Linked DNA regions of Homo sapiens: region 2 is linked to region 1. Evidence: promoter capture Hi-C in 16 types of primary human blood cells and fetal thymus (Javierre and others, 2016). All regions are on one chromosome and are shown on one strand. The core of a region is centred on a gene start or on the middle of the fragment in contact, and the rest is flanking DNA. Distances in the headings are between cores, read along the strand shown. Region 1 holds the start of GSAP (gamma-secretase activating protein). Region 2 has its middle 33 kb from the start of GSAP.

Region 1 (2,966 bases), core at 52-2,551:
ACCACCCTCTCCACCTCGAAAAAAAGTAAAGCCTTACTAAGCATGACACTAATGCAAACTCAATGCATACGCTACACAAACATATAACTCCTTATTTGGAGCTAATAATATTCCAAGCCAAGGAAACCTACAAATAATTTCGCTATAGTCATAGGAGAGTGTGAAGATACAAGATAGCAACTTGATATATAACTCACATCAAGAAAACTTTCACCAGCGTTTAAGGGAAAGGAGTTGTAGATGTGGGTCATTTAATACCCACTTCCAAATTCACTGAAGTGGACAGCGCCCTACACACAAGGTGAGACCTACAGGCATCATTGCTTTGAAGCTGCATTTAAGCTCTGAAGCTCCAATATTTATAGAAGACTTTTAAAACTTTGTAAGAAATCACAAAGTTCCCCTTCTTTAAAACAGATCAGTGCTGGGAAGGCTCAAAAGTCACTTTCACTCCCTTACCAAATCATCAAAAAGCCCGGAGTGGCAGGGCCGGGAGCCGAGCATCTCGCGCGCAGCCCCAGCCTGCACAGGTGCGGAGCTCGGGGGCGGCTGGGGGCTCTCGCCCCGCCGCGCGCAGCCTGGAGGCGGCCCCTGCCCTCTTGCGCCTCACCGCCGAGGCCCATGTCCCCTGAGCCACGGACACGGTTCAACAGACACATAAACACGTCTCGCAAATGTGGGGACAAACTGTTCCACCGTTAGGTATAGGGTGGTTTGCTTGGTGGTCACGGATTCTTTCTCAAAACGTGAAGCTTCCAGGAGCACTCCTGTCTTGGCAAAGCCCCTGCGCTGCCGATGAACCCCCCGGGAGGTGGGATGCGGCCGCTGAGCTGAGCACGACCCTCTGCCCTCGCCGTGAGGTGATGCTGAGGGAACCGCCAGCGGCCCGGCCCCTCTGCCAAGGGCGAATTTCCGCGGGCCGGCAGCGAGCCAGGCGCCTCAGGCCCCACGGCGACCTGGCCCGGGCTCTGCCCCCAGACCTTCCGCCGTGGCTGGGTGTGGGTGGCAAAGCCAAAACAGCCCTCTGAGGAGGGGAGCGACGCCCTCGCACCAGCCTTCTCAGGGCGGCGACGCCCCGGGTTGCTCCCCACCGGGTCGGAGTCCGGGGGGTATGAGGGACTCCCACTCCCCGCCCCCACCCCTCTCCGCAGCGCGCCTCCCGCACCTGCGCCGCCGCTTCCGGCCCCGCTGGCCTCCGACACTGCCCGCTGCGCCCGCAACCACGGGAGCACGTCCTTCCCGAGGTCGAAGTCGGCGACCAGGCGAAGAGCCATCGCCCGGACACGACCACCGGGCGGCTCTGGGGCCCCGCACCGCGGGCATTCCCGGCCCCGCGTGGCCGCCTCGCCCTCGCGTCCCCGCTCCCGCCCCCTCTTTCCTCTCCCCCGCCCCCTGCTGCTTTCGGTTCTGCAGCGCCCTGGCCTGAGAAGCTCCGGCACCAGCTCCTCCCGGCCGGCGGCCCGCACCTGAGCCGGAGCCGGAGCCGGGCACGGCGGGTAGCGGTGGGGCGGGGTGGACCAGGCGCCAGGACCAGGCCCGCCGGGGCGGGAGGCCTCCGCGCGCACCTTCGGGGCTGAGGATAGAGGGCGCAAAGACGTGGGCGCTTCAGGGCCTTGGCGAGGCCGCTAGCCCAGTGGCTTCCAAACCTGGAGGGTCGGCCTATTTTCTTTATTCTACAAGTGCCTCCACTGTGCAGCAAAGTGTGGAAACCACTTGGCTTGAGAGAGCTGGGTCCTCTGGAGCAGTTCAGGGTCACCACAGAAGTAGGCCGTCTCTTGGGCCTATTCGCCCCAGCTTCGAGGTGGTGGTGCTTTATTAGTGTTATTAAGGTAATGAGTAGCAACTGGGAGCGTATGACGAAGGTGATCCCATTGTAAGAGAAACGCTAAAAGGGGTTAATGCGCTTGATACAAACAGCGTCCTTTTTGCCTTTTAACTCTAGTACATCTCATTTGATGCCTTGAGACATGAAAACTGAATCTTAAGTCTCCACGCAAACCCTCTGCCTCCCACCAGGGTCTAACAGAGCACTCTGGAAGGTGCTCGACAATTACTGAAGAATGAGTGAATACAGTAATAAAGAATGCTTTTTCACATGCTTCCGAAATTAAGGTCTGAAAACTACTTGTATTGACGTCATCTGGGGCACTATTTTACAATGCAGACTCCTGATCTCTACACCTGGACAAGACCAGAAACGTGCATTTTACCCAGAGCCTCGGGTGATTCTTAGGCTTACTAAGTTTGAAAACTACTCCAACCAAATGTAAAAGAAAGTCTTGAATTTTTTTCCCTCCTAGAGACATGTTTCTCCAACTGAGGTAATGGATGATTTCAGGTAGAACTCCATTACTCACCACCATATACAGAGGAAAGTCCTCCCACCCGGGAAGTGCATGCAAATTTAAGATAAATGCCTAATGAAGCTGCTAATATTATCAGTGAATAAAAGGAAGGCCACTGGAGCCCCCAAGGAGCTAATGCAACTATTTCATATCAAATAAGCTTGTTGCCTTTGTCATACAGAAACACTGTTGGCCAATTTTTTAAAGTCAGTACATTTCCATTGTTTTTATTTTTGCAGTTAACTTCTATTTTTGCCAGGCAGGACTGATTTTATAGTCAAGCAGTGATGATATAAAAAATTCTCTTCAAATTAAGTGAAAAAGCCAATGTAAAGAAGGTGAGAAACAATAAGATAATGATAGAAAGATGTGGCCAAAATCATGAGGGTGCTATATGAAGGCATGTGTATCAGTTAGGATTAGATTCTCCAGAAGTTAATAAGAACTCAGATTAACAGTAAATTAAACACACAAGTTTTATTCTGTCACCTAGCTGGACGTAGGCAGAATAAAGCTCTTAGGGCAGGTTCCTGAATTTATCAGGGACCCAGGCTCCTTCCAGTTCTTTGCTCCACCTGATCCTGAGTGTACCCTTGTCCTCATGATCAAAGAGGGCTGCAG
Region 2 (2,977 bases), core at 292-2,791, 33 kb after region 1:
GGGCATCTTCTTAGGGACAGAAACAGGATGGGTGAGGGCATCTCAGAGACTGATTATTTTTTTCCTAGAAAGACACAGCATTCCTTAGGAGCCTGTTTCAGTCCCAAAATCTAATGACTCTTAAAACATTGGACAGCTGGTCAAGCTTCTTTCCCTTTCATTCCCTGTGTCAGGTTTCATAAGGCCTTCTGATTCCCTCTTCTCTTTCTCACAGACTGCAATGTGAACGTGTTACAGGAAAAGGGTCCGAATCCAGACCCCAAGAGAGGGTTCTTGGATCTTGCGCAAGAAATAATTCAGGGCAAGTCCATAGAGTAAAGGGAAAGCGAGTTTATTCAGAAAGTAAAGGAATAAAAGAATGGCCATTCCTCAGGGCTGCTGGTTGTCCATTTTTATGGTTATTTCTTGATTATATGCTAAACAAGGGGTGGATTATTCATGCCTCCCCTTTTCAGACCATATAGGGTAACTTCCTGATGTTGCCATGGCATTTGTAAACTGTCATGGTGCTGGTGGGAGTGTAGCAGTGAGGACAACCAGAGATCACTCTCATGGCCATCTTGGTTTTGGTGGGTTTTAGCCGGCTTCTTTACTGCAACCTGTTTTATCAGAAAGGTCTTTATGACCTGAATCTTGTGCCAACCTCCTATCTCATCCTATGACTTAGAATGCCTGACCATCTAGAAATGCAGCCCAGTAGGTTTCAGCCTTATTTTACCCAGTTCCTACTCAAGATGGAGTTGCTCCGGTTCAAATGCCTCTGACAAACCCAGTTGACATGGCAGTGAGCCATCTTCAGTAGTGTGGATGATGAAGACAACACCTTCCAAATGGTAACACCACAAGTTAGAAGCAGCCTTGGGTCTAGACACTGCCAAGCCACCTTACAGACCTTGGACTTTTACTTGTTTGTCATTGTATGTTGGCCCCATTTGATACAACAGTCTAATCTATATCTCAGTCAGATCAAATGGAATGAGAGGCATAAGTGATGTGAGACTAATATATGAAGTCATTGCAGTGCTTACAATTATAACATCCTTTTTCTATGTTATACTTTTTTTTTTTTTTTTTTTTTTTGAGATGGAGTCTCACTCTGTCACTCAGGCTGGAGTGCAGTGGCACCAGCTCAGCTCACTGCAGCCTCTGCCTCCCGGGTTGAAGCGATTCTCCTGCCTCAGCCTCCTGACTAGCTGGGAGTACAGGCATGCACCACCACACCTGGCTAATTTTTGTATTTTTAGTGGAGACAGGGTTTTACCATGTTGGCCAGGCTGGTCTTGAACTCCTGACCTCAGGTAATCTGCCCACCTTGACCTCCCAAGATACTGGGATTTACAGGTGTGACTGCTGCACCCGGCCTTCCTATGTCATACTCTTATTGACTGATGGTCAGTGATCTCTCCAGGGCTTCGGCTAGATTAATCCTTTGATGTTTCACTTTTCTTCTCATTTCCAATTATTCTTCCTTTTCTTTCTTGACTATTGTTTGTCTATATCATTGCATTTTCTCGGGTCTAGTGATCTGTGTAATTTTACCTCATGTTTTAGTAGCATTTCTTCTACAACTGCCTTAAGAGTTGTTACAAACAACTTACACATTTTTTTACAGCTGTTAATACTTTGAAATATCGGAATAAGTCAATAAATAATCAAAATACTACACTTTTTTTTTTTTTGAAACGGAGTCTCGCTCTGTCACCCAGGCTAGAGTGCAGTGGCACGATTTTGGCTTACTGCAACTTCCACCTCCCGGGTTCACCCCATCCTCCCACCTCAGCCTCCCAAGTAGCTGGGACTACAGGCGCATGGACTTCAGGCCACCACGCCTGGTTAATTTTTTGTATTTTTAGTAGAGATGGGGTTTAACCATGTTAGCCAGGATGGTCTCGATCTCCTGACCTTGTGATCTATCCACCTCGGCCTCCTAAAGTGCTAGGATTACAGGCATGAGCCACTGTGCCTGGCCAAAATCGTACACTTTTGAAAGATTTTCATTATCAACCTTTCACTTCTAAGGTTAACATTTATGAATTAACAGGTATGATTTGATTAAGGTAATAATGCAAAAATTATATCCAGTAGAATCCTGGGCCAACATACCTAAGAATAAATAAATAAATATATTTGTGTATGCGTGTATGTTTCCCTGAAATTTTATATTTGTATACATATGTATACAATAGACACAGATGATTTTTATTGAATAAAAACTCATATAATAGATACAGGCTCACATTCTTACACATTTAATAGTCAAATATTTTTTAATCAAGTTGGTTCCTTTGTAAACTCAATATGCATTCAGATTATGTTAAATATTCTTAAAATTTCTATTTTTTCCAAAATAAAGTATTTTTTTGTAATAAAAATTACCTCCTAGACATTGGGGCTATATCAGATACTATATCAAAGCTAAGATTCAGTCCTGAATGAATGCCAATTTTGAAATATTTTTCACTGTAGAAGTCACAGTCCTTCAGAATATAAGTCACCAGTAAGTGCTCCGAATTCCTTTCTGAAGTGTCACATCACTGATTTAGTTAGACCAAGAATAAAACAATTTGAGAAACAAATACACATCTCAATTTATCTCATCCCTTAGCCAACAATATAATATGATTTTGTACCTCCCTCCATTCAAAGCACCAATAGCCAGAGAGTCCTCTTTCCAAAAGAACAAACATACAAACAAATGCAGCTTAAAAAGTAAAATAAATACTCATAGCATCATCAATAAAAAATTATAAAAACAGGGCAAATTTTATTTCAAACATTTTACAGTGCTTTTAAATATTGTTTCAGAAGAAGGAAATAAGCGTATGTATTCTGCTAAGATCTAATGCTTCAGGAACCCACAAAACAGTTATTTTATCACCCTAGCTAGCTACTGATCATAGACATGGGATCAGATGCCATGATAGAGACCAAAACAATGAAGCTTTGTGAACAGCTACAGGACTGCAGCAAACCCAGA

What was found. Contacts are between HindIII fragments. The CHiCAGO score rates a contact against its expected background, and 5 or more counts as called.
Region 2: a fragment that was not itself captured here is called in contact with the fragment with the promoter of GSAP in region 1 in 2 of 17 cell types (monocytes and M1 macrophages); the score reaches 7.9 in monocytes.

Annotation. Positions count from the first base shown.
Region 1 is chr7:77,415,048-77,418,013 of GRCh38, forward strand. It overlaps GSAP (gamma-secretase activating protein), which reads right to left and starts at 1,302. Exons shown (of 31, transcript NM_017439.4): 1 at 1,166-1,302. The coding sequence starts at 1,274. LOC101927243 (a long non-coding RNA gene) reads left to right here and starts at 151. Exons shown (of 5, transcript NR_110073.1): 1 at 151-301. RefSeq lists silencers at 468-757, 818-1,027, 1,248-1,597. The HindIII fragment of the contact is 1,753 bases long and covers 751-2,503 here.
Region 2 is chr7:77,447,772-77,450,748 of GRCh38, forward strand. No RefSeq gene overlaps it. Among named protein-coding and RNA genes, the nearest start is that of GSAP, 33 kb to the left of the region's middle. The HindIII fragment of the contact is 2,796 bases long and covers 144-2,939 here.